Regions from separate parts of the Homo sapiens genome. Here regions 1, 2, 4, 5, 6 and 7 are each linked to region 3. Evidence: promoter capture Hi-C in 16 types of primary human blood cells and fetal thymus (Javierre and others, 2016). All regions are on one chromosome and are shown on one strand. Each heading gives the region's core, a stretch centred on a gene start or on the middle of the fragment in contact. The rest is flanking DNA. Distances are from core to core; before and after follow the strand shown.

Region 1 (3,220 bases), core at 603-3,102, 500 kb after region 3:
ATAACCTGAGGAAAATCACTTCATCTCTCTTAATCGCACTTACCTCATCTGACAATGAAATAGCCTAGAAGCCCATCTATTGGCCCCAGATTAGGAACTCCTGATCCATATGATCTAAAAATATTTTATTACTCTGGGATGTCATAAGCCTATTAAGTCTCCAACCTCAAGTTGTTCCCAGTGGGATGGAAGTCAGCATTCAGGCTGTAGAGGCTTGTAAATAAAAGTGGTGTCAGCAGTAAGCATGCAGGGATATTTGGGTACTGCATAGCACACTCTTTATCTTCCCTTTATCCTCCTCATTCTTCTCTTTATTCTCTTTATTGGATTATACAATACTGCACCTCTGTTCACGTGCTTTGCCAGGGTAGTCCCTTCTCTAAGAGGGCAGTCCAGTGACAGAGAATGCCTCAGTTGCTGCCTTACAGGTCAAGCCATTTGGGAGTTGGGTTGGATTGAGTTAGTTTGGGCTAGATTGGGCTGAGAATGCTCAGTGTGGGAGAAAAATAGTGCTTGAATTCTTAGAGATAACCCCTTTTACCCCACCTCACTTTCTTTATAGCTCAGAGGGAACCATTACAGAGAGCGAAGCTGGTCTATAATTTCCTTGCTGGGTTAGGTGGTGGGAGGAAGCTGGGGGAGATGGCCCTAATTATGTCCGGACTTTTTTTTCCCCAGGAACTTTTAACTTGCTGTGAAGAAGGGAAAGGGGAGCTCAAGGATGGCCTGGAGGTGATGCTCAGTGTCCCAAAGAAAGCCAATGATGCCATGCATGTCAGCATGCTGGAAGGTAGCTGTCCTCCCAGCACTGGGGAAGCCTCCTCTCTTCCTTGACACGGGGGAGCTTGTATCATGGGAGGGAAGTGGCATGAAGTTAGACAAGGTGCAAGGCTGGAAGAGAGAAGAAATGACAAGTAGTTACATAGGCCCTTGTCATGTGAGAGGGGCTCCACAAGGACCAATTTGGCTAGCACCCTGCTTCTAGGAAGGACCAGGCCTAAGCCACTGGAGGTTATGTGGACATGTTGCTGCCCATGAGACAGTCCAGGACAGGCCATCACCCTCACTGTTGATGTGCTAGAGCTTCCAACCTACAGCAGTCTTGTTAGTCTGCATAGCATCTGCATTACATTGCCTTGGTCATCACAATGAATAGAAAGCCTGATCACATAAACACACACAGACACACATACACACAAAACATACCATCTTCAGCCTTATGCTCTTTTTTTGTTATTATGGTAAAATATACATAATATGTATAACATAAATTTACCATTTTAACCATTTTTGAATGTACAGTTCGGTGGCATTAAATACATTCACATTCTTGTGCAACCAGCATTTTGTCCTCTAGAAGGTTAGTAAGTCCAGCCAAACAACTCTGATAAGACTTCAGTCAGATGAAGCTATCTTCTTGGGACCAGAAACCTGTAGAGTAAGATTCCAATAAAGTGGTCTTAACACTGCAGAATGAGTGGGCAGAGCAGCCATACTGGGGTGGAATTTGTTAGATGAGTTAAGATTTAACATTTTTTTGGGAGGCCAAGGTGGGTGGATCACCTGAGGTCAGGAGTTCCAGACCAGCCTGGCCAACATGGCGAAACCCCGTCTCTACTAAAAATACAAAAATTAGCCAGGGGTGGTGGTGCATGCCTGTAATCCCAGCTACTCGGGAGGCTGAGGTGTGAGAATCGCTTGAACCCAGGAGGCAGAGGTTGCCGTGAGCTGAGATCGCACCACTGCACTCCAGCCTGGGCGATAGAGCAAGACTCCATCTCAAAAAACAAAAACAAACAAACAAAAAGACTTAACATTTTTAATGGGTGCTAAAGGAAATGTGTATAGTCTGTTGCAAATATGTAAACACGTGGGCTGTTTTTTCTCTTCTGGACTCCATCCTACTCCGCCAATACCACCAACACCACCTTGGGAGACTTGATACGGTCTCCATACTTCCCAGACCATCCTTAGCACCAGAAGCCTCAATTCTTAGAGCAAAGGAGCCCTGGCTATTTTCCCTAGGCTGAGCAGGAACCATCTCAATGTATTCCTGTTGACATTTTTCTCCACTCCTTTCCTCTCTGTTTGTACCTTCCCCTCCACCCCACCCTGGAAGTACCTGCAAGTACCCAGCTCCTCCAGTCTGTCCCTGACCTATGCTCTGGATCCAGCTACTCCATGCATGGTCTGTTTACCAGCAGCAGCAACAGCACCTGGGAGCTTGTCAGAAGTGCACATTCATGGACTCACCCCACACCTACTAAATCAGAATATCTGGGGAGGTTGGAGGGTGGGCAGTAATCTGTGTTTTCACAAGCTCTCCAGGTGATCCTTATGCACAGTAAAGTTTGAGAGCATCTCTTAAAAACTTCAAGTGGTATAAATATAAACTGTTGAAGGCTTGTGCAAAGTAATCAAAGGGAGGAATTCTAGAAATGGAATATAAGAATTAAGGTAGGTCAGGCACAGTGGCTCATGCCTATAATCCTACACTTTGGGAGGCCAAGGTGGGAGGATCACTTGAGCTCAAGACCAGCCTGGGCAACATAGGGAGACCTTGTCTCTACAGAAAATACAAAAATTACCTGGGCATGGTGGCATGTACCTATGACCCAGCTACTTGGGAAGCTAAGCTGGGAGGATCACTTGAACCTGGGAGTTCAAGGCTGCAGTGACCCACGATCATGCCACTGCAAAAAAAATAAAAAATAATAATAAGAAGAATTAAGGTAATGAATGACACATAAAGAGGAGCTGAAGACACTCAGTCAGGCAGTGTTTGTCCTCAACCCCACTCATAGCTACAAGTCAGGAACAGTAGAAAGTTGTGGAGGACAAAGGAGCTATGGGATTTGCCCTTGCAGGAGGCCAACTGTGGGTGTGTGAAGGTGTGAGGTTGCATAGGACCTTTGCAGGAGATTCCACTAATATTGGTTATGTATATAAAAGACATGGTGCAGGAAGGGGGCAGGAGAGATCTAATTGCAATTCTCAGAGATGTCTATGGAAGTGTTCAGCAGTCTCTGGAGTTAGCAGAGAGAAAAAAACCCTTCAGTAACTGAAGACTAACAATAAGAGAGGCCTTTCTCCAAGAGGGGGGTGGAACATGGCCCCCTGACTGTGGCAGTAGAGAAACTCCACAGGGTGGAAATGGATGTTTTTCAGGGTTCGACGAGAACCTGGATGTGCAGGGGGAGTTGATTCTCCAGGATGCCTT
Region 2 (3,393 bases), core at 463-2,962, 310 kb after region 3:
CCATTGGCGACATAGGCAGCATTTCAGGCAGGTTAGTTTGCCAGAGACAATCAGGGAAAGAGATCTCCTGGGGCCAGAACAAATTTCAAGCATTGACTTCAGGAACTATCTCTTCAAAGAGACCCAAATTTAATTGCATATGTCTGTGGAACCACTTATGCCCCAGTACATTGTTGAAAACAATAGAGCAATCAGCTTGCAATTAATGGAATTAAATTCCATTGACAGCACCAAGGAAAAATCAAACCTGGTACAAGATCTGGTACCAGCTGGGTGTGGTCAGGGAAAGAAAATCAGAGCACTGCCAAAGCCACTGCCATTGCAGGGTGCCTGTGAGCCTATCCAATGCTGTACTCCCCCTGGGAGCAACATTGGAGTCTTCTTACTGTGGAGCTGTGGGGGAGTGGGAATATTTCAATAATCCAGTCACTAAACAAATAAGCAAATAACAACAACAAGCTCTAAAAGAAGTGGGAGACCAGTACCCAGAGTTGCTGCTATATGACCTAAAATGTCCAATTTTCAACAAAAAAATTATGACACATGCAAAGAAACAGGAAAGTATGACCAGGAAAAAAAAGGAGTAAAAATATGTACTAGAAAAAAAATAAAAAACAGTCAATAGAAATCACCTGTGAGAGCAACCAGATGTCAGATTTTACAAAGACCTTAAAATTGCTATTATAGATATGTTCAAAAAACAAACCATAGTTGAAGAATTAAATGAAAGCATAATTACAATGTCCCCATCAAACACAGAATATCAGTAAAGACATTATTATTATTATTATTTATTTTGAAATAGGGTCTTGCTCTATCACCCAGGCTGAAGTGCAGTGGGACAATCATGGCTCACTGCAGCCTTAACCTCCTAGGCTCAAGCGGTCCTCCCACCTCAGCCACCTGAGTAGCTGGAACTACAGGTGCATGCCACCATGCCTAGCTAATTTTTCATTTTTTGTAAATATGGGATTTTGCCATGTTGCTCAGGCTGAGAGGCTTATTTTTTTAAAGGAAATATGGAGCTGAAAAATACAATAACTGAGACAAAAATTTTTTAGAGAGGCTCAATGTAGATTTGAACTGACAAGAAAAAACAGAATTAACAATCTTGAAGATAAACTAATAGAAATTATGCAATATGAAGAACAGAGAGAAAAAAGAATGAGGACAAATGTACAGAGCTTCAGGAAAACATGAGACACCATTAAGTGCACCAACTGCTATGCATAATGGCAGTACCAAAAGGAGAGGAGAGAGAGGAAGAAACAGAAAAAAATTATTAAATTATTAGATGAAATAGTGGCTGAAATCTTTCAAAGTTTATTTTAAAATATTTATGGCCAGGATGCTTAAGAAACTCCAAGTAGGATAAATTCAAGAAGATCCATAAGCAGACACATTATGGCAAAATACTGAAAGCCAAAGACAAGGAAAACCTTAAAAATAGCAAGAGGAAAATGACTTCTCTGTTACAAGGGAACCTCAATAAGATTAAAAGCTGATTTCTCATCAGAAACAATGGAGGTCCAAAGGAAGTAGGACAACATATTAAAAAGTGCTCAAAGGAAACAACTGTTAACCAAGAATACTATATCCAACAAAACTATCATTCAAAAATCAAGGTGAAATAAAACTATTCTGAGATAAACAAAAACTGAGAAAATTTGTTTCTAGCAGATACACCTTATAAGAAATAATAAAGGAAGTTTTTCAAGCTAAAAGCAAGTGACCCTTGATGGTAATTTGAATCTACACCAAAAGACAAAGAGCACTGATAAAGGTAATTATGTGACTATAAAAGACAGTATAAACACACATTTCTTCTCCTTTTTTCTCTTAATTGATTTCAAAAGCAATCATATAAGATAATATGTACATAATGTATTGTTGGGCCTATAACATAAAAATGTAATATGTTTTCCAGTGATAGCACAAAGGAGGTTGGTAGGAGCAAATTTGTAGTAGGCTAAGGAAATTAGTCCAGATGATAACTTGAATCCACAGAAACAAATACAGTGATTCAGAAATGATAAATAAGACTAATATGAAAAAAGCTATAAATATATAGTAATCCTCCTTTTTTGTCTCAGCTTCTATAAAAGACATAAAATTACAGAAAGTGATACTTATAACAATCTAATGTTTGGTTTGTAACATTTATAAATGTAATATGTATAAAATATGACAAAATGTGAGGAAAGGGAATAAAGCTCTATAGGAGTAATATTTTTATGTCTCACTGGAATTAAGTTAATGTACAGTAGAAGCTGATTCTGATAAGGTGTATATGGTAAGCCCTAGAGCAATAGCTAGGAAAATAACTCCCAAAATATAGTGAAAAAAATCAATCAGTAAAGATACCAAGATGCTACACTACAAAATACTCACTTATGCAAAAAAAGCAGTACAGGGTTATAGAAGTATAAAAAAGACATATAGAAAAAAGTCAAATGGCAGACATAAACTCTATTAATAATGACATTAAATGTGAAAGGATTCAATAATCCAATCAAAGGTAGAAATTGTCAGACTGGATTTAAAAACCAAGATCCAGTTAGTAACACTGTCAAAAAACATTTTTAAAAAATATAAGACCCAATCTAATTGCTGTATACAGGAGGCACATTTTGGATTCAAAGATATAAATAGATGGAAAGTAAAAGGATAGAAAAACATGTATTATGCAAACAGCAATCAGAAGAATAGCCAAGTGACTATATTAATAACAGATTCTTAAGTGCATTTTAAAAGAACAGCAAAAAGTTACTAAAGATAAAAAGCAACTTTTTAAAGAAGAAGAATGTCACTCTATCAGGAAGATGTAACAACTATAAGCACATATACACCTAACAAAAAAGTACCAAAATACACAAAGCAAAAACTGACAGAAATGAAGCAAGAAATATACAATTCAAGTGTATTAATTGGAGACTTCAATACCCCCTTTTAATAATGGATGGAACAAATTAGCAGAAGGAAATAGAATACCTAAACAAAGAAATAGAAGACTATAAGCCAAATTGAACCAACAGACATCTATAGAACACTCCATCCAACAATAGCAGACTATATAATCTTCTCCAGGACATGAAACATTGTCCATAATAGACCATATCCTAGGTCAAAAAACAAACCTCATGAAATAAAAAAGGATAGAAATAATGCCAGATATTTACCCCATCACAATGGAATGAAATTAGAAATCGGTAACAGAAAGAATTTCAGAAATTCACGAATAGGTGGAAATTAAATAACATCTTCCTGAATATCCAATAGCTAAGAGACAAAATAAAAAGGAGAATTGGAAACTAATTTTAGATGAATGAAATTTTTGACACATCATACCACAACTTACGTGATACAGCTAAAATTGTGCTTAGAGAGAACATA
Region 3 (3,530 bases), core at 726-3,225:
GAATATGGCAGCACTTTTGACAACTCCCAGGAGCTTCACTGCCTTGAAAAGTAGTTGCAATAGGGAGTGATATAAGAGACAAGTATTTAGGAGATAGGATCTACAGGATTTGGTAACTACTGAAGGAGGAGGAGGAGGAAGAAAAGAGGAGGTGGAGGAGGAGGAAGAAGAGAAGGTGGAGAAGGAGGAAGAGGTGAAGGACAGAAAAGTCTAGAGTGACTATCAGTTTTCAAGCTTGGATGACTGGGTGCACAGTGGTGGTACCCTTGTAGAAATAGAAAACACTAAAGGAGGGTCAGGTCAAATTATCCCCCCATGTTCCCATTTACTTTCAGGAGTTCCATGCACTTTTGAATCACAGAGTTGAAATCATAGACTCTCTGAGTTGAAGAGGCACCAAAGCCCAGCTTTCCTGCCTTTGGGCAATAAGGGTCATTTGTTCACATCAAAGAAGTGGGAGAAAGGTCCATTCTATCTTAACATTCCTCAATTCTAACATTTTGTAAAGTTATTTTCCATTTTTAAATCTCTTGATAGTGTAGGTCTTCTTCAATTATACATTCCAGAGCTTATCCATAACCCCAACTCTTTCAATTCAATGCATTTCCTCCTAAGTGAAACCTACATGCCTCTCAATGTAAAATGGAGGCCAACATATACCTGCCAAGTGCTGAAGAATGTAGGTCTTAAAATAGACTATAGCCTTGTTTCAGGGATCTCTCACTTGGTTTTATTGGTATGGGCTAAACAGGGCTTCCGTTTCATAAATGAAAGTCTCCAGTAACATGAATGAAAGGCTCCAGGGCAGAATCTCAGAGGGTTTCTATGAGTATCACTTGGAACCAAGCACAGGCAACTGCACATCCCTGTTTGGGTTTGGAATTGGAGATGGTGGGTTTGGGATGTGGTTACTCTTGTTTGGAATACATTCTCCTCCTCTTAACAGGTTGATTCTTCCTTTGGAGGTCTGCTTAACCTTCCCTGATTACCCTGTCAGTTCCATTGTACATACCCTTCCAGAGCATCACTTACCTATCCTTAGTGTGATTCTTTGAGTAACATGTGTCTCCCCCAGCAAACTCCACGGCAGGACTGGTCAGTTTTTGCTCACCACACCATCCCAGTGCCTAGCCCAGTGCCTGGAACTTAGTGTTCAATAGGTACTAGTAAAAATGAATGCGTGATAGCAGTCTATGAAGTGCTAGCTATAAAATGAACACGTGATAGGAGTCTATGAAGTGCTAGGTATAAAATAATGCGTGATAGGAGTCTATGAAGTGCTAGGTATAAAATAATATGTGATAGGAGTCTATGAAGTGCCAGGTATAAAATAATGCCTGACAGGAGTCTATGAAGTGCTAGGTATAAAATAATGTGTGATAGGAGTCTATGAAGTGCTAGGTATGCCCATGACATCCACATGACAATTCACCCAGAGGTATTTTTATATCCCTGTCGCTGATGAAAAAGCAGAGGTGTGGCTCCTCGGTGGAGGGCTCTGATTCCAAACTCTTGAGCCTCCCAACCACTGTCCTCCGGGTAAGAAACCGTATAATAGTATTCTGGGTACAAAATACGCACACAAATTGGCCAGAAAGCCATAATCCCCCACAGTCACATTCTCTTGAAGATCCCCTTGCCTTCCCCTTGCCCTGTGAACAAGGAGAGGCTCAGAATCCAGGGGGCGTCCGGCAGGGCTCCTCCCTCAGACCAGCGCAGCCCTCGGGGCGCTCAGAGCCCTGCCCTCCCTCCACTTCCCCTCGGGGTGGCTACCTCAGGCTCGCTCCCAAACCGGCTGTCTGGCTTCAGGCGACACCTGGCGCCTGGCCTCAGGCGAGAGGTGTGGGGAGAGACCGAGTGCCTCCCACCCTTCTTAAGAAGGAGAGCAGTAGAACCTCGGCGGGGAGGGCAGCAGCGGCCGGGGGTGACAGCAGCGGCGGGGCACGACCGCCGTTAGCGTTAGACGTTAGCGCTCCGCCTTCGCCTGGCAAACCCTGCGCGGGCTCCGCTGCCAGGTCACCAGGGGTAGCGCCGGGCGCGACGTCACAGAGCCGCCCCGCCTCTCCTGCAGCGGCGGGTTCCCAGGGTCCCGCTAGGGCGCTGCTAGGGGACGCTGAAAGCTGTTTTGGGCTTTGCTGGTGGTGGAAGGACCAGACGGCCTGGAGGGTTAAGGACTGGGCTGGGGACGTTAGGAAACCCGGGCTGGGGGCGTTGGGGGTGGGGCGGAATGTGTAGCCATTGACGGTGCGCTTTTGTAGGTGAGAGGGCAGAAGTGGAGCTTGATCTTTCGGCTTGTGGAAAGTGGACAGGTGAGAATTCCTCAGGAATCATAGTAACAACACTTCTTACAATGAGTTTTTGGTGCCAGGAATTGTTCTAAGTGCATTACACACATGAACTCATTTCATCCTTACTGTCACCCCATGAGGCAAGTACTATTGTTATCCCCATTTTTACAGATGAGGGAACTGAGCACAGAGAGGTTAAACTTGTCCAAGATGACAGTCAGCAAGTGACAGAGTCAGGATCTGAATCTGGGTTGCGTGGTCCCAGATTCCTCACTCTTGACCTTATAATGCTAAGAAAGGGGCATGGAGTGGATAGGAACAGAGCCTGAGATGCCTGGGGACAACAGGGAAAGATAGAAAATATTTATAGGGTAGAATGTGGTCACTGTGCCAGGGCACTTTTACAAACATGATGACATCAAAGTTTCACAGTAAACTCTGAAGGTAGGTATTACCTTCGCTTTGGAAATAAAAAACAGGCTCAAGGCTTCGAGTAATTTTGCCTGTGATCGAACAGCTGGCAGTAGGGCTCAGGGCCCAACTTTACTCCAGGTCTTCCGGTTTCAAGACTGTGTGTGTGTGTGTGTGTGTGTGTGTGTGTGTGTGTGTGTGTGTGTGTGTGTTTTGAGACAGGGTCTTGCTCTGTTGCCCAGGCTGGAGTGCAATGGGGTAATCATGACTCACTGCAGCCTCAATCTCCTAGGTCTAAGCAATCCTCCCACCTCAGCCTCCCAAGTAGCTGAGACTGCAGGTGCTTGCCACGATGACAGGCTAATTTTTATATTTTTATAAACGGGGTTTTGCCATGTTGCCCAGGCTGGTCTTGAATCCCTGGGCTCAAGTGATCCACCTGCCTTGGTCTCCCAAAGTATTGGGATTACAGGTTTGAGCTACCGCACCTGGTCTCAAGACTGTTCGTTTTAAGCACCCAAGGAGGCAAGAAAAGCCCCATCTTTCTCTGCTACATCCCGTGTCACTTCACACCTATTTTAAAGGGGCCCATTGCATCATCTAATCCTTCATTCCATTTATACAACAGTGTGTATTAGTCTAAATAGATTAGTTCACCCAGGCCCTTCAAAGCTTTCTCTGTTTGTGAGATGAAAGCCTTTGTCTCTCCCTAAAGCAATTTTAAGCATCAGTGAACAAGTGGGGGAACTAGATTTTTGGGTTACGCATGCAGAAAGCTTTTCACAGCCTGTTGTCATCCATTTGTAAAGAGGCCACTCTGCTGGCATTTGT
Region 4 (3,122 bases), core at 480-2,979, 440 kb after region 3:
ATGTATAAACAGTGTTAAGATGCATGATATTTTCTTAGGAACCATTACTAGTACTAGAAGAACTGTCTGGGATTTGAGATTTAAAAACAAACTTCATATTGCACACACAGCATCAGCAAATCATTTTCTAAGGCGGAATTAACCAAAGGAAATGAGTTTTATTATCATCAGCTGTCTCTATTGTAGCTTTCTGACACACTGAAATATCACAGTGTTAGCATGTATTCACTATAAAGAAAAAATCAGGATTGGGGTTATAATCAAGAATCAGGGCCAGACATGGTGGTTCACATGTGTAATCCCAGCAATTTGGGAGGCCAAGATGGGCAGACCTCTTGAGATCAGGAGTTCAAGACCAGCCTGGCCAAATGGTGAAACCCCATCTCTACTGAAAATACAAAAAAAAAAGTAGCCAGGCATGGTGGTGGGTACTTGTAATCCCAGCTACTCGGGAGGCTGAGGCAGGATAATTGCTTGAACCCAGGAGGTGGAAGTCGCAGTGAGCTGAGATTGCGCCACTGCACTCCAGCCTGGGTAATAGAGTGAGACCCTGTCTCAAAAACAAAAAAAGAATTGGGCACATAGCAGTCAAGTTCCCACAGTCATAAGCAGCAACGAAGAAAATGAAGGCTGAGCGATCAGATTAGAGGTATAGCACAGTTATGAGGCATGCTGGGCAGAATGAAGACAGCTCTTGGCCATACCTCCTCTTTATCTTCAATGAAAAGGTTTGCCTCAATCAAATGGTGGCCAAGTAAGACCAAGTGTCATAACACACTTAAGCATCTCAATGAGCTTTTGAGGAAGCATGGGTAAATGTATTCACAGTGCTTGAAATGACTATATTCCACATGACTGCATATGCAATATGTATTCATTTGTGTTAGACACCATTTCATCTTTACAGAATAGAGGCTCACTAAGCATAAACACCTCTTAATCAGTTCTGGGTTTCTATCTGGATACAACTTGATCAAATATTCTTGGAATTGATGTTGAGATATAGGCCACTTAGTCTCGAGAGGGCATGGCAGAGCAGTTAGGATTTCTAGAAGATATTGGGAATGAAAGGTAGGCAGAGTCTGCATTGCCTAGAACAATGAAGGGAACGGAACCAGAATTGCAACATATGCTCCTTCTCCAGGTGGCCTGTGCTTCTCCTTAAATGTTTCAGTTCAGACTAGGTTCTCCATCAGAAGGAAAATATGCCAGGGAAGATAAGCTATTTCAAAGGGAGTGAAAGCAGTTGGGTTTGGCTTAACCCATTTTGACAGTGTTACTAGAGGCCTTTACAATGATTGTTGGTGGGGAGCATAATTTGACTTCTTTCTTGAACCCTAAGAAAGGACCCTGGGTTCCATCAGGGAAAATAAAAAAGTTAATAAAAAATAAAAAGTAAAAAAGTAAATAAAAAGTTAATAAATAAAAAGGATTAAAAAAAAAAGAACTTCTGGTCAGATGTGGTGGTTCTTGCCTGTAATCCCAGCACTTTGGGAGGCTGAGGCAGAGGATCATTTGAGGCCAGGAGTTTGAGACCAGCCTGGGCAGACAGCAAGATCCCATTTCTACAAAAAGTGAAAAATTAGCCAAGTGTGATGGCACACACCTGTAGTCCCAGCTATCCATCTACTTTGGAGACTGAGGCAAGAGGATTGCTTGAGCCCAGTTCAAGGCTGCAGCAAGCCATGATTGCACCATTGCACTGCACTTCAGCCTCGGTGATAGATCAAGACCCTGTCTAAAAAAAAAAAAAAAAAAAAGGAAAGAAAATAGACCTTCTACATATATATGTATCTCCTCAAGGGATATGTAAATAACATGGGGATTATGTATTGAAGTGAATTATCTCCTGCACTGTTATGCCCCCCAGTGAAGTAATTAAGGGATGATGTAGGAGGTTACTCTCTAGCTTTATTAACCTGCCAAATTTATTCCTTCAACTGGAATCTTTTTCAACTGATTATTAATGTTTTAAATGATTGCATTGTTAGCTGAGATTTGTGTTACATGAAGTTTCTTTTCATGTGCTGTCTATACTTGATCTGTAAAATGGGACTGCAGTAGTAACCTCCTTCGAAAACTCAATGTACAATTTTATTATTCTATTTGTAAAGGAAATTTATGAACCAATTAGTGAGCAGATTGATACATAACTTCTGTTTCTCTGCTACAGAAACTGAAATGTCCTTAAAATCTAGAGTGCTGCAAGGAAAAAGAAAGAAGTGGGGACAGGAGTTAGGGTCGTGAGAGATTAGCTAATAAAAATGTATGATATTCTTTTTTTAAATATGCTTTAAAAATAATAATGTATTAATGGTCATGACAAAATGGATCAGTCATTTAAAGCTCTTTAACTTCTCTGCATCTTTTCACTCACGCCTCACTCCACCCCCTCCCATACCACGCCTGGGTTGTTCCCACGGACCTTTCTCTCCTCTCCTTGTGCCCAGTCCCTCTTTCATGCCACTTCCTTGCAGAAGACGCACCAGAGTGCCCTGCAGGTACAGCAGAAAGCCGAGGTGCTGCTCCAGGCCGGCCACTACGATGCCGATGCCATCCGGGAATGTGCTGAGAAGGTGGCCCTCCACTGGCAGCAGCTCATGCTGAAGATGGAAGACCGGCTAAAATTGGTCAATGCCTCTGTGGCCTTTTACAAAACTTCTGAACAGGTGAGGGAAAAGACTGTGGGGCTTGTGGGGCTGAGATTGCCAGGGGGCCATTTTCTGCCTTGCAGTGTAAATGTGCAGTGCTTATGTCAGCGAGAAGCCTGTCCTTTCAGTACTAACATTTGAAGAATAGTTTGTGGAAACACCACAGTTGACTTTCTTATCATCCTTTCCATTTGAGCACTGGACTATGGGGTTTGTCTCATAAATTTCTGAAACTCACCAGATCTATAGGGAGGTGTTGAAATAGAAATTGGGTGTATACTAAATGCTAGATTTGGGCAGTATATTAGTCAGCTGTTACCACCATAGTGCTGTGTAACAAAACAATCCAAAACTCAGTGACATAAAACAATAAACATTTATTTTTTTCTTAAGTGTCTTAGGTTCAGTTGATTTTGGCTGAACTTGGTAGAACTAGGCTTCGAGCTGCAGACTGGGTCTAGATCTGTTCCC
Region 5 (3,321 bases), core at 439-2,938, 470 kb after region 3:
ACAGCCACACTTATTTTTTTTTACACATTGTCTATGGCTCCTTTCACATGACAACAGCAAAGTTGAGTGGTTGTGACAGAGACCGAATTGCCCACAGAGATTTATTATCTGGCTCTTTATAGAAAAATTGCTAACCCCTGATCTCGGTGTGTTGGACCTCTTTTCCTGGCTTTGAAACCTGGTTTATTATGATACTAAGAACTGTTTTGGTATATATCTACAAACTCTACTGAACAGAAATCTTCATTCTGGGAGCTGTAGGAGAAATGTGGAAAGCTGAGATTCAAGCTATCTAGTTTAGTTGGTGAGACAGAATATGAACAGTCCTACATGCCTGTACTCACATGAATATCACCACAGAATCACAAGTATTAATAGTAGGACTGGGGTGGAAAAGGGAGAGAGAATATGGACCTAGCTGAGCACAAACCTGCTAAAGGGTTACAGGGCCAATGGTCAGGAAATATCACAAGTATCATAGGAAGATACTTGTAGGAAAGGGAAGGAATTTTGAAGAAAGGAAAAGACCTGTTGATGAAGTAGAAAAATAAGACATTTAAGAATGTCATACATGCTGGGGTGGGGAAGTGAAGTTTGAAGGAGGAGAGACATTATATCTATATCCAAGTAAAAGCCCATTTGTTTCCTTCTAGATTTATTATGGCTGAACTACTCCAGACAGAGAAGGCTTATGTAAGGGATTTGCATGAGTGCTTAGAGGTGAGTCTTCCAGTAATCCGTTCACAGCTATATTGGAAAAATGACATCCTTGCCAGCATCAAGTCCTCAATTGGAATTTGGTGCTATTGGTCTTCTCCCAGAGAGTAATGAATTAAAAAGTCAACAAGAGGAAATCTTTCTCCTAAAGTCAACAATAATTACATGAGAGTTTAAAGTACTTTTGAAAAGAAAGTTTAAACTTTTCTCAGACTGGAGCTAGACCCAGGAACAAGAAGTGTGTAAGGCACTTCAATTCAAAATAAAACCATGACACAGTCAGTGAACTTAAATTGGGTCTGAAAATCTGCATCCTGACCCCCATAAAAGTCCACACACATTTAATAAATGACAAGAGACTGTGGAGTTTGTGTTCTTGCTAAAGTTCAGGATAATGAAATATTCAGGTTTTATTTCTTTCTCTTATGTTTACTTAACACGTCACTTTTTAAACTCTGCACGCATTTACAGTTTGAGTCTTGCCCCACAAGTTTGAGCACCTGTGTATTTTGTCTGTATTTTATATGGCCTGCCAGACTTGCCAGTGATGAAACTGTTACTGTCTTACAGACCTACCTGTGGGAAATGACCAGTGGTGTGGAGGAGATCCCCCCTGGGATCCTCAATAAAGAGCATATCATCTTTGGCAACATCCAAGAGATCTACGATTTCCATAACAAGTAGGTTTGTGGAGGGTCTCAGAGGTGCACACTTAGGCCGTAAAAACCAGACAACAGGGTTCCCAAGAAGTGGATCAAAGGCGATTGGTGAATCTTATCTGGTCAGTTTTCTAAGGCAGTTGCTGTCAGACTTCTTTTTTACTCACTCCCCTTTCTCCATAATTGTCCGAAAGTCCTAGTGGAGAGTAAAGTCAAGTATTCAGCAGTGCTCCTCCCCATCTCTCCTCAACATCCTCATTTATTCAGCCAGAATGAATAGCAGGCTTTGAAGAAATAAAAGTAGCTTCTCCTCATTAAATCTTGTGGGAAATCCTGACGTTAGAATTCATCTGAGGCTAACCATTCCACCTTGTGATCTTTAGGTTTTGAATTCCATTGAAGTTTTCTATCAACCTAAATATTTCCTCCATCCTCATTTTATTTCACATTTCTTGACAGTTTGGAGGGAAGGATATCAACCGATACTCTGTTTTGTTGGAATAAGTAGAATTGTAGAGCCCTAAAACTTCACAAGTCATTGTTTCCAACTTGATTTAAGAATTTTTCCCACACCATACAAAACAGCATGTTCCATGGTTAACAAAGGATCAGCAAAAAAATTGGCATGATAAGTTACATAACCAACCAATAGAAATAACTGTGTTTCCAAAATACAAATAGAATCTCAAGACACAAAGAAGAACATGGGCATAAAGTCTTAGAGCTCTCAGGACCCTGCTGCAGAGCAGTGCTGTGCCAGGCTAGCAGAGGCATTTACTGAGTTGTGTAGGTTTGCTGGAGATAGAAGGGCCATGTGTACAGGTGTAGCAGCCACCCTGAGGCAAGACTCCAGAATAGCACTGTCCCATGGAACCTTCTGCAATGATGGAAATGTTCTATATCTGCAGTGTCCAATACAGTAGCACTAGATATGTGTGGCTAATGAACACTTGAAATGTGGCTAGTGCTACTGAGGAACTGAATTTTCAATTTTATTTAATTTTAATAGATTCAGATTTAAATAGACCACAAGTAGCAAGTGGCTGCCATATTCGATATCTCAGCTCTAGAATAGCCCTGTGCTAAGAATGACCAAGAGGCAAGCAAGAATTGGGTGTAAAATGATCCTGGGCTGTAATAGGTCCAGATAAGGGGTGGAAAGTCACTCCTCTCTCTTCACCTCCTGGTTATTAATTCCTGGTATGTCATCAGATGGCATCAGTTTAAAGAGAACATAATATATGTAGCTCCCATGGCATGCAAACCTTGTGAGATTATTGAAGCAATACGCTCTGGGGGAAAAATAACTGTTTGACTTTCTGGAATATGTGATATAAGTTCCCAGTCTTTTGTTTTTTTAATCATAAATTTTAACACGATCCATTTGGTTTGTCTGGAAATTTCCAGATGTAGAAATATCATGTCCTCATGCTTATCACTGATAAGAGCCCAATAAAACTATTTGACCATTGATCCCAAATTCCATCATCTGAGCCCAGCTCAGTATCATCCCATCTCCCTCAGGATATCTGAGAAGACATCGGACTGGCAAACGGTAAGTCGTGTTACCTTACTTTTCTGGCTTATGGTCTCTGGGATTTACTCAACAAGTCTCACTTTCCCCATGTTCTTAGCCAATTGACTAACTACGGAAGCCTAGAGATCACAGCACGCACTTTCTGGGAGCCCTACATTTGCCAATCAGTTTATAAGGGGAATGAATATACATTTCCAAATTGATCACTTGTAACAAAATAGCTAACATAATCATGCCTCTTATTCTGCTGTCATGATATCACTGGTAAACCATGGTAAACAGTTTTGTAGTTTTCTAAATAGCTGAAAATCTACCTACCAGTTACAATATATAGTTCTAAGAAATCCTTTTAAAAAATCAAATTAAACCATAGAGAATCTCGCATGCTGTAAATCGAGGAATAAATCC
Region 6 (3,232 bases), core at 373-2,872, 410 kb after region 3:
CAGCTACCCTTTGCTTTAATCCTAGGTCCAAAAATGTTCATATTGAGAATCTGAAATGTAAAAGAAAAGCAATCATAAAGGTACTCATCTTTCTATCCCCTACTCTCTTACAAGCACATCTGTACTCCTGCCTCCTTGGGAGAACTTGTAATTTCTTGCTTAAAGACTTCATGTTCTAAAAGGTGCTTTCTGGACAGGTCCTGGAACAAAGGAGAAGTTAAGCCTTTAAATCTAGACCTTAACTATCCTTCCAACTGATTTCATAACCTTAGGAGAATTTATTTATATTTATTATTTATTTTGAATGTACTGTCAGGATTTCAGGTGGCAAGTAGTATCAACACACATTTTGAAAAACAATAAAAATGCCAGTGGGAAAATAAAAATATTGACATGTAGTGAAGAGTGTATGTAGTGAACATTGTAAAGGCAGGGTAACAAGGTAATAAAGAGATAAAAGAGAGGGTATGGGTCATTATTCTTTAGTAATATGGATTGAGATGTACAAAAATAAATACAGGCTAAGTTGATTAAAGTAGCCCAAGGCATTCCTGCAATCATTCCTCAGCTCCATTTTGCCCACTGGGAGAGAATATATCCATGGAGAAATTATGTTAGCAGGTGTGGTGGTTTTGCTGTTGTACTTCTTATTTACTCTCCTGTCATTCCAGGTCTGCTTCAAAACATGCTTAAGGGGGAGGAAACAATCTGAGGGTTTGGATTAAGTTTTATTTGAAAAGATAGCTGTGACCTGGAAGTCAGGGTTGCTGGTTCAGCGCTGGAATGGGTCAGTTAGCTTCACTTTGACATCGACTACACCCCTCACATCAGCTGGGGGCATCGCAAGTGTGTCTTTACTAGCATCGATTGTAGGCAAATCAAGTTCCACTCCTAAAAAACAATCCAAAGCATATGGAGAAAATATCCTTTAAAAAATGTGGGTTTAAATCACATGCATTAAAATTGGATCTGGCTTAAAGGTTACGAGAGAGGAACTTGACACTTAAATTATGGAGCCAAGGGTGGTGGCTCACGCCTATAATCCCAGCACTTTGGGAGGCTGAGGCTGGCAGATCACTTGAACTCAGGAGCTCAAGACCAGCCTGGGCAACGTGGTGAAACTCCATCTCCACCAAAAATATAAACAAAAACCGAGTGTGGTGGTGAGCACCCATGGTCCCAGCTACTCAGGAGGCTAAGATGGTAGGATCACTTGAGCCCAGGAGGCGGAGGTTGCAGTGAGCTGTGATCACACCACTGCACTCCAGCCTAGATGACAGAGTGAGACCCTGTCTCAGAAAAAAATAAAAAATAAACAAATAAATTATTGGATTTGCATTCTTTAGCCTTTGTATGTATAAAAATTCCTCGTCCCACCCTAAGTACTGGACAACCTGGTATGCAGGAGAGCAAGAGTGTGAGGGCCTCATAAAATGAGGGAGAGAAAAATCATGATAGGATCCTGCATCCTCTGGTGTAGGCTATAACGTCCGGATTTTACAAGGGGTCTTATTCCCTTGTCTTGTGGGGGAGGCCCAAAAGCTTGGGGAGAATGCTACATCTAATCTTAGAACTGGAAATCCTGCCAAACCTATAGAAAAGTTCTGCTTCAAGTCAGATTGTCAGAAGTTATTTTTGAGGGTGTTGAGATTATTCAAATACCAGCTATGTCTCACTGTGGGGATGAAGAACAAACTTTTAGAGAAGCTTCTGGTGTGAAACTGAGGGTGGTTTCTGTAACGAGAGGCGTGTTTATGCTGACATAAGCCAGGGCAGGGTCTGTGATTACAGGACCTACAGTGTGGTTTCCTTCCTAAAGGAAGGCATTTGATAGACATGCTCCAAATTCCTCAGGATTACTGAACACTGGAGGAGGACTGCTACCCTGCATCTGAGGAATCTAAACATGACTCCTTAGCCATATCACTGAGGGCCCAGATGAGCCAGTTAATGTAATCATTAGGATAGCACATGAGCTGCTGCACCAATCTCTTTGTACTCAATAATAATGGTACTCACATTATAACCTGGAATGAGATCATAGGGCATGCCCACATAAAGTGAAACATCCTAAATTTGTTAGTCAGATGTTCAAAACCAGGCCCATAGCTGGATTCCTGGTATACCTTCTTGGACTCCATGGAGACCAAAGTGACCTATAGTGGAACATGATGTTCTATAACGTTTTTTTCCTTTAGGTTCAGCCTCCTTCTATGAAAGACATTTTATATAAACTAGTTATGATAGAAGAGACATTTCACCAAATACAAATGTTTATTTTGTGATGGTAAGAATACAGGTGATTTTTTTTCTTATTTTTGATGCTTTCTTGCATTTCCAAGTTTTATACAATTAGGATAATCAGAAAGAAATGAAAAATATTTTTAGAAGCAAGAATAGGCCAGTGGTCTCCAAACATTTTTGATTGTGTGCCTTCTCAATTTTTTTGAACTTGCAACCCCCTACATATAAATATTTATTCATTTTTAAGTTATAAAAACGTTCGGTCACTGCCTAATAATTTCAAAATTCAACATGCTCTTTGGGAGAGGTTTAGTTTTTTCATTAGAAATTGTGGGTTCCATATTTCAAATAGTCTTCTGATAATTTCCAATTATTTTTTGCCTGGTTTCTTGAGAGATCAGATTAGATTGTCATTGTTGCCTTACCCCATAATGTGGCTGACAGAGAATTCAAAGTTCTCTTGTGCTTTCATGATTGGTATTATCTTCAAACTGCAGTTTCTTTGCAGGAAACTCGTTAAACCACGTGTCTTTTTGTGAAGGTTAGTTTAGTTAAAACTAGATAGTAGATAAATCTATTTAACTGGACACATGAAAAAAAGCAATAATTTGAAATGTGCTGAAAGCAATGAACAAATGAGCCACAGTCAGCCACTGAGTTGTGACACTCCTACCTTCCCCCCTTCCCCGAGGAGCTCTCTTTTTCGTGCACTACACAAAGCCATCTGCCATGTGGTCAGAGTGAGACTCCAGCACCAGTCTACTAATGAAAATCCTGGGAAATTTTATATACTTTGTATTGGCTTGATAAAATATATGTGCACAATATAATATATATACACATATATGCATATTTATATCAAGATAGTTTTTCTACCATCATTGGATAATTTGGGGCATTTTCTGAGATGGGCATACTTATGTTGGAAAGCCTTAGAAATGACACTAAGAAGGATATTCTAGACAAGGGACTTTCTGAAAATATGGGC
Region 7 (3,040 bases), core at 294-2,793, 340 kb before region 3:
TAGAGGGAGGAAAAGGATTTTTAAAGTGTGAGTGTGTGTGTATGTGTGTGTGTGTGAGAGAGAGTGGGCATATGAGTGTGAGTGCGGGTGTACCGGTGTGAGTGTGAGTGTGAGTGTGTTTAGAGTTCTTAAAATGCTGCTGACAAAGCTTAGTTTTTTTAAAAAAAGACTAAAACTAAACATGAATGGGATTGGAAAGTATATTTTATCACAGAAAGGAAGCTGCCATGGAAAAATAAAAAAGGATGAGATAGACAGGGACACCCAGATAGTCTAGCTGAAGTATCAGAGGTGGGTTTCACGGTTACTGTCGGGATGTGGGCCTAACTGGTCAATATTCCTAAATCCACATGTTGGAGAGTTAAGAGTGGCATTGTCCAATTCACAGGTGGAAAGGATGACCTGAGAGCAATGCAACTAGAAGCCAGGAATGGAGTTAGTGTTCAGGAGAATCTGATCATTCTACCTTTTAGGGTGGTGAACCCTAAAGTCCATAGTTAATACCCAAGACAGAAACAGCAGCTCCTCAATCTACTGCTTGGGCTGTCAGATGCTGTCACAGGGCAAAGTGTGCATGGGCCCCAAACAGGGGTGAGTACTGGGTAGCTGTTGAGAGCGCCCTGGGTGCCTGCCCTGGAGCTCTGGCTGTCGGCAGTCCAAAAGCCACAATGGAGCTGGAGGTGGCAAGCAAGACCACTGAAGGGAAGGGCTATGTCTTAATCAGAAAAGGTGAGGCCTCTGAGGTTGGGAAAGAAGTCTAAAATGGACATGACTTTAAAGAGAATCACACAATCGCCAAGGATGAGATGAGAGTTTCAGACTTTTCATCAACTCATGACTACTGCATCTTGGGGGAACCATTTAGTGTTCTACCTCACGTAGGAGGAAGGCTGGAGGGATATGGAACTCACACATGAGAAGTACCACTAGAATAATAAGTATGTTCAATAGACATTTAGGTTAGTTCAGTGATGATATTATAAACAGGGTTTTAAGAGAAGCAACAATATTGGAGTCAATGAGTGATGGGACACCAGGTGGACCAGTCACTGGACTAGGTCTTCGACACAGAATCATCCTATTTACTGTCAGGGAGGCCCCTGTCTTGACCTGTGGTGCTGCTGCCTGATATAGTGGTTCACCAGTTGAGTCATCCTTTATTTCTTGTTCCTGTGCCACATTTTCCCGGCGTGGCATGGAGACCAGTGTATTCCAAGCAGCAGAGTGAGAGGGAAAGGAGAGGGCAGCTTTCCTGGCCTGGTGTCAGGAGAAGCAGTCTTGCCAATGGCCCGGCAGCAGGAGGCTTTCCCTGCGTGCCTTGAAGGGGGCATCCAGTCCTAGAGCTGGCCCCTGCCTGTCACTGTGAGTCCAGGTAGACAGCCACAGGGCCAGCCTCTGGCCTCACTCATGAGCCCACATCCATGCCTCACCTTCGCCTCTCACCCCAGAGGTCTGTGGCAGATCTGATTCTCATGCTAATGCTCTGGGGGAAGGACCTAGATCATTCTCAAGGAATTCCAGCCCCTCTTTCTAGTGCACTGTGTTCCTTTATGCTGCAGGAAACTCGGATCAAGAGTCCGGACTAAGCAGGGAGCAGTGGCAAGTGCCTGTAGTCCCAGCTATTCGGGAGGCTGAGGCGGGAGGAATGCTTGCGTCTAGGAGTTCAAATCCAGCCTGTGCAACAGAGTGAGACCCGATCTCTTTAAAAAAGAGAAAGATTCCAGGCTGCTACATCCCCTTCTGCTTTTCCCTTCTTGTCCTGCCTCTCTTCTATTTGACCACAAGGGGAGGAGTGAGAGAGAAGTAGAGGAAAGACCACAGTTCAATTAGCAGAGCTCTTGGTGCATAAAGGGTTGTTGAGAAAGGTGAACTGGTTTCCATCTTTCCACTAGGGAAGGGTCTTCCACTGAACTTAAAAAAAAAAAAAATCTGTTCAGAATGAGCTATGAGATCCATGAGCTAAGTGGAAGGCTATTTGGAAGATGGTTCTGAGATATTTCTGCAAACAGATGAGAGTCTCGTTACCCTGGAGTGTTTGGGAGAGGATCAGCTGAGTGCTCAGGACCCTCACATGGCACAAGTCCAGTCAGTCCCCTGGACAGAGAATTGTCCCTTCCTGCAGCCAAGGACTGTTGCACACCCAGAGAACACTAGAGGGCACCCCCGCCCCGGAGACGGCCTCTGAGGCCAGGGCGTAGCTGCAGCCTGGGATGGGAGCGGTACAGGCTTTATATCTCGAACTGTCCTGGGGGTTGCAAGGAGGCTCCAGTTCTGCAAGAAGCCTCAGTCACAGTAGCTGTTTTGCTAACAATTATACAGACTAGAACAAATTAGGGTAAGGAGCAGGGATGGAGTGGATTTGAGTGACAGCAGGATTTGAGGAGGAGTACAGTTCAAGACCTGGCTGGGCTGGGAGGGAGCGGGGCTGTGGTAAGGTTCTGGCTCTGTGCACTTGGGTTTGGGAGTACATTGTCAGTTCAGGGACCCTAGTCTTAGGAGTGGCTCTGGCATAGAGAAGCCACTGGAGCTCCACGGGGAACCCATGCTTTGTCCCCCAGTGTATCCCCAGTGCCCATGGCAGTGCCTAGAACACAGGAGGGGCACAGAACACATGGTGAGTGGATGTGGGATGAGGGCTAGGGTACCAACAGGGATGCAAATGAGGCATGAGAATGAAGTAGAAGAGCGAGAGGCAGGAGTGGCAGTGGCTGTGGTGGTAGTGGTGAAGGTCAGAGCCAACATTAGCCGGGCTTCATGGAGTGTGGGTTAATCAGCACTGCCTTTTTAATATGATCCCACCCCATCTGCTCCACAGAAATGACCTACAATGACCTGTCACTTGATCCCACCTCTCTGCCAACACACACACACACACGTGCGTGAACACACACGCCACTTCCCTGAGAGCCATTTCCCTCTTCAGCAGAGGGATGGCCTATGAAGCTTTATAACTAACAAGCATCTGAGCAGACCGTGGAGGACTTTTGCCTGGAATCCCCTCAACCAGAGTCCTCTGCCCTGAGGCCTAACACTTGCCAAC

The links. The method cuts DNA at HindIII sites, captures the fragments that hold promoters and counts their contacts. A CHiCAGO score of 5 or more calls a contact.
Region 1: a fragment that was not itself captured here is called in contact with the fragment with the promoter of ROPN1 in region 3 in 3 of 17 cell types (M1 macrophages, M0 macrophages and endothelial precursors); the score reaches 7.0 in M1 macrophages.
Region 2: a contact is called between a fragment that was not itself captured here and the fragment with the promoter of ROPN1 in region 3, in 1 of 17 cell types (endothelial precursors). The highest score is 5.2, in endothelial precursors.
Region 4: a fragment that was not itself captured here is called in contact with the fragment with the promoter of ROPN1 in region 3 in 1 of 17 cell types (endothelial precursors); the score reaches 5.1 in endothelial precursors.
Region 5: a contact is called between a fragment that was not itself captured here and the fragment with the promoter of ROPN1 in region 3, in 5 of 17 cell types (endothelial precursors, M1 macrophages, M2 macrophages and 2 more). The highest score is 7.9, in endothelial precursors.
Region 6: a fragment that was not itself captured here is called in contact with the fragment with the promoter of ROPN1 in region 3 in 1 of 17 cell types (M1 macrophages); the score reaches 7.0 in M1 macrophages.
Region 7: a fragment that was not itself captured here is called in contact with the fragment with the promoter of ROPN1 in region 3 in 3 of 17 cell types (M0 macrophages, naive B cells and endothelial precursors); the score reaches 5.4 in M0 macrophages.

What each region holds. Positions count from the first base shown.
Region 1 is chr3:124,487,526-124,490,745 of GRCh38, forward strand. It overlaps KALRN (kalirin RhoGEF kinase), which reads left to right. Exons shown (of 60, transcript NM_001388419.1): 29 at 679-790; 30 at 3,169-3,220. Among named protein-coding and RNA genes, the nearest start is that of MIR6083, 110 kb to the left of the region's middle. RefSeq lists an enhancer at 3,155-3,220. The HindIII fragment of the contact is 5,495 bases long and covers 1-3,220 here.
Region 2 is chr3:124,305,295-124,308,687 of GRCh38, forward strand. The region is part of intron 6 of KALRN (kalirin RhoGEF kinase); the gene reads left to right. Among named protein-coding and RNA genes, the nearest start is that of MIR6083, 67 kb to the right of the region's middle. The HindIII fragment of the contact is 4,472 bases long and covers 1-3,393 here.
Region 3 is chr3:123,990,149-123,993,678 of GRCh38, forward strand. ROPN1 (rhophilin associated tail protein 1) reads right to left here and starts at 1,976. Exons shown (of 6, transcript NM_001317774.2): 1 at 1,774-1,976. RefSeq lists an enhancer at 1,748-2,264. The HindIII fragment of the contact is 3,137 bases long and covers 233-3,369 here.
Region 4 is chr3:124,431,857-124,434,978 of GRCh38, forward strand. KALRN (kalirin RhoGEF kinase) reads left to right here. Exons shown (of 60, transcript NM_001388419.1): 17 at 2,451-2,669. Among named protein-coding and RNA genes, the nearest start is that of MIR6083, 59 kb to the left of the region's middle. The HindIII fragment of the contact is 4,450 bases long and covers 1-3,122 here.
Region 5 is chr3:124,461,237-124,464,557 of GRCh38, forward strand. It overlaps KALRN (kalirin RhoGEF kinase), which reads left to right. Exons shown (of 60, transcript NM_001388419.1): 24 at 654-720; 25 at 1,288-1,397. Among named protein-coding and RNA genes, the nearest start is that of MIR6083, 89 kb to the left of the region's middle. The HindIII fragment of the contact is 4,372 bases long and covers 1-3,321 here.
Region 6 is chr3:124,400,209-124,403,440 of GRCh38, forward strand. All of the region lies in intron 13 of KALRN (kalirin RhoGEF kinase), which reads left to right. Among named protein-coding and RNA genes, the nearest start is that of MIR6083, 27 kb to the left of the region's middle. The HindIII fragment of the contact is 165 bases long and covers 1,541-1,705 here.
Region 7 is chr3:123,650,380-123,653,419 of GRCh38, forward strand. All of the region lies in intron 24 of MYLK (myosin light chain kinase), which reads right to left. All of the region lies in intron 1 of LOC124909421 (a long non-coding RNA gene), which reads left to right. Among named protein-coding and RNA genes, the nearest start is that of MYLK-AS2, 38 kb to the right of the region's middle. RefSeq lists an enhancer at 1-204. The HindIII fragment of the contact is 2,795 bases long and covers 147-2,941 here.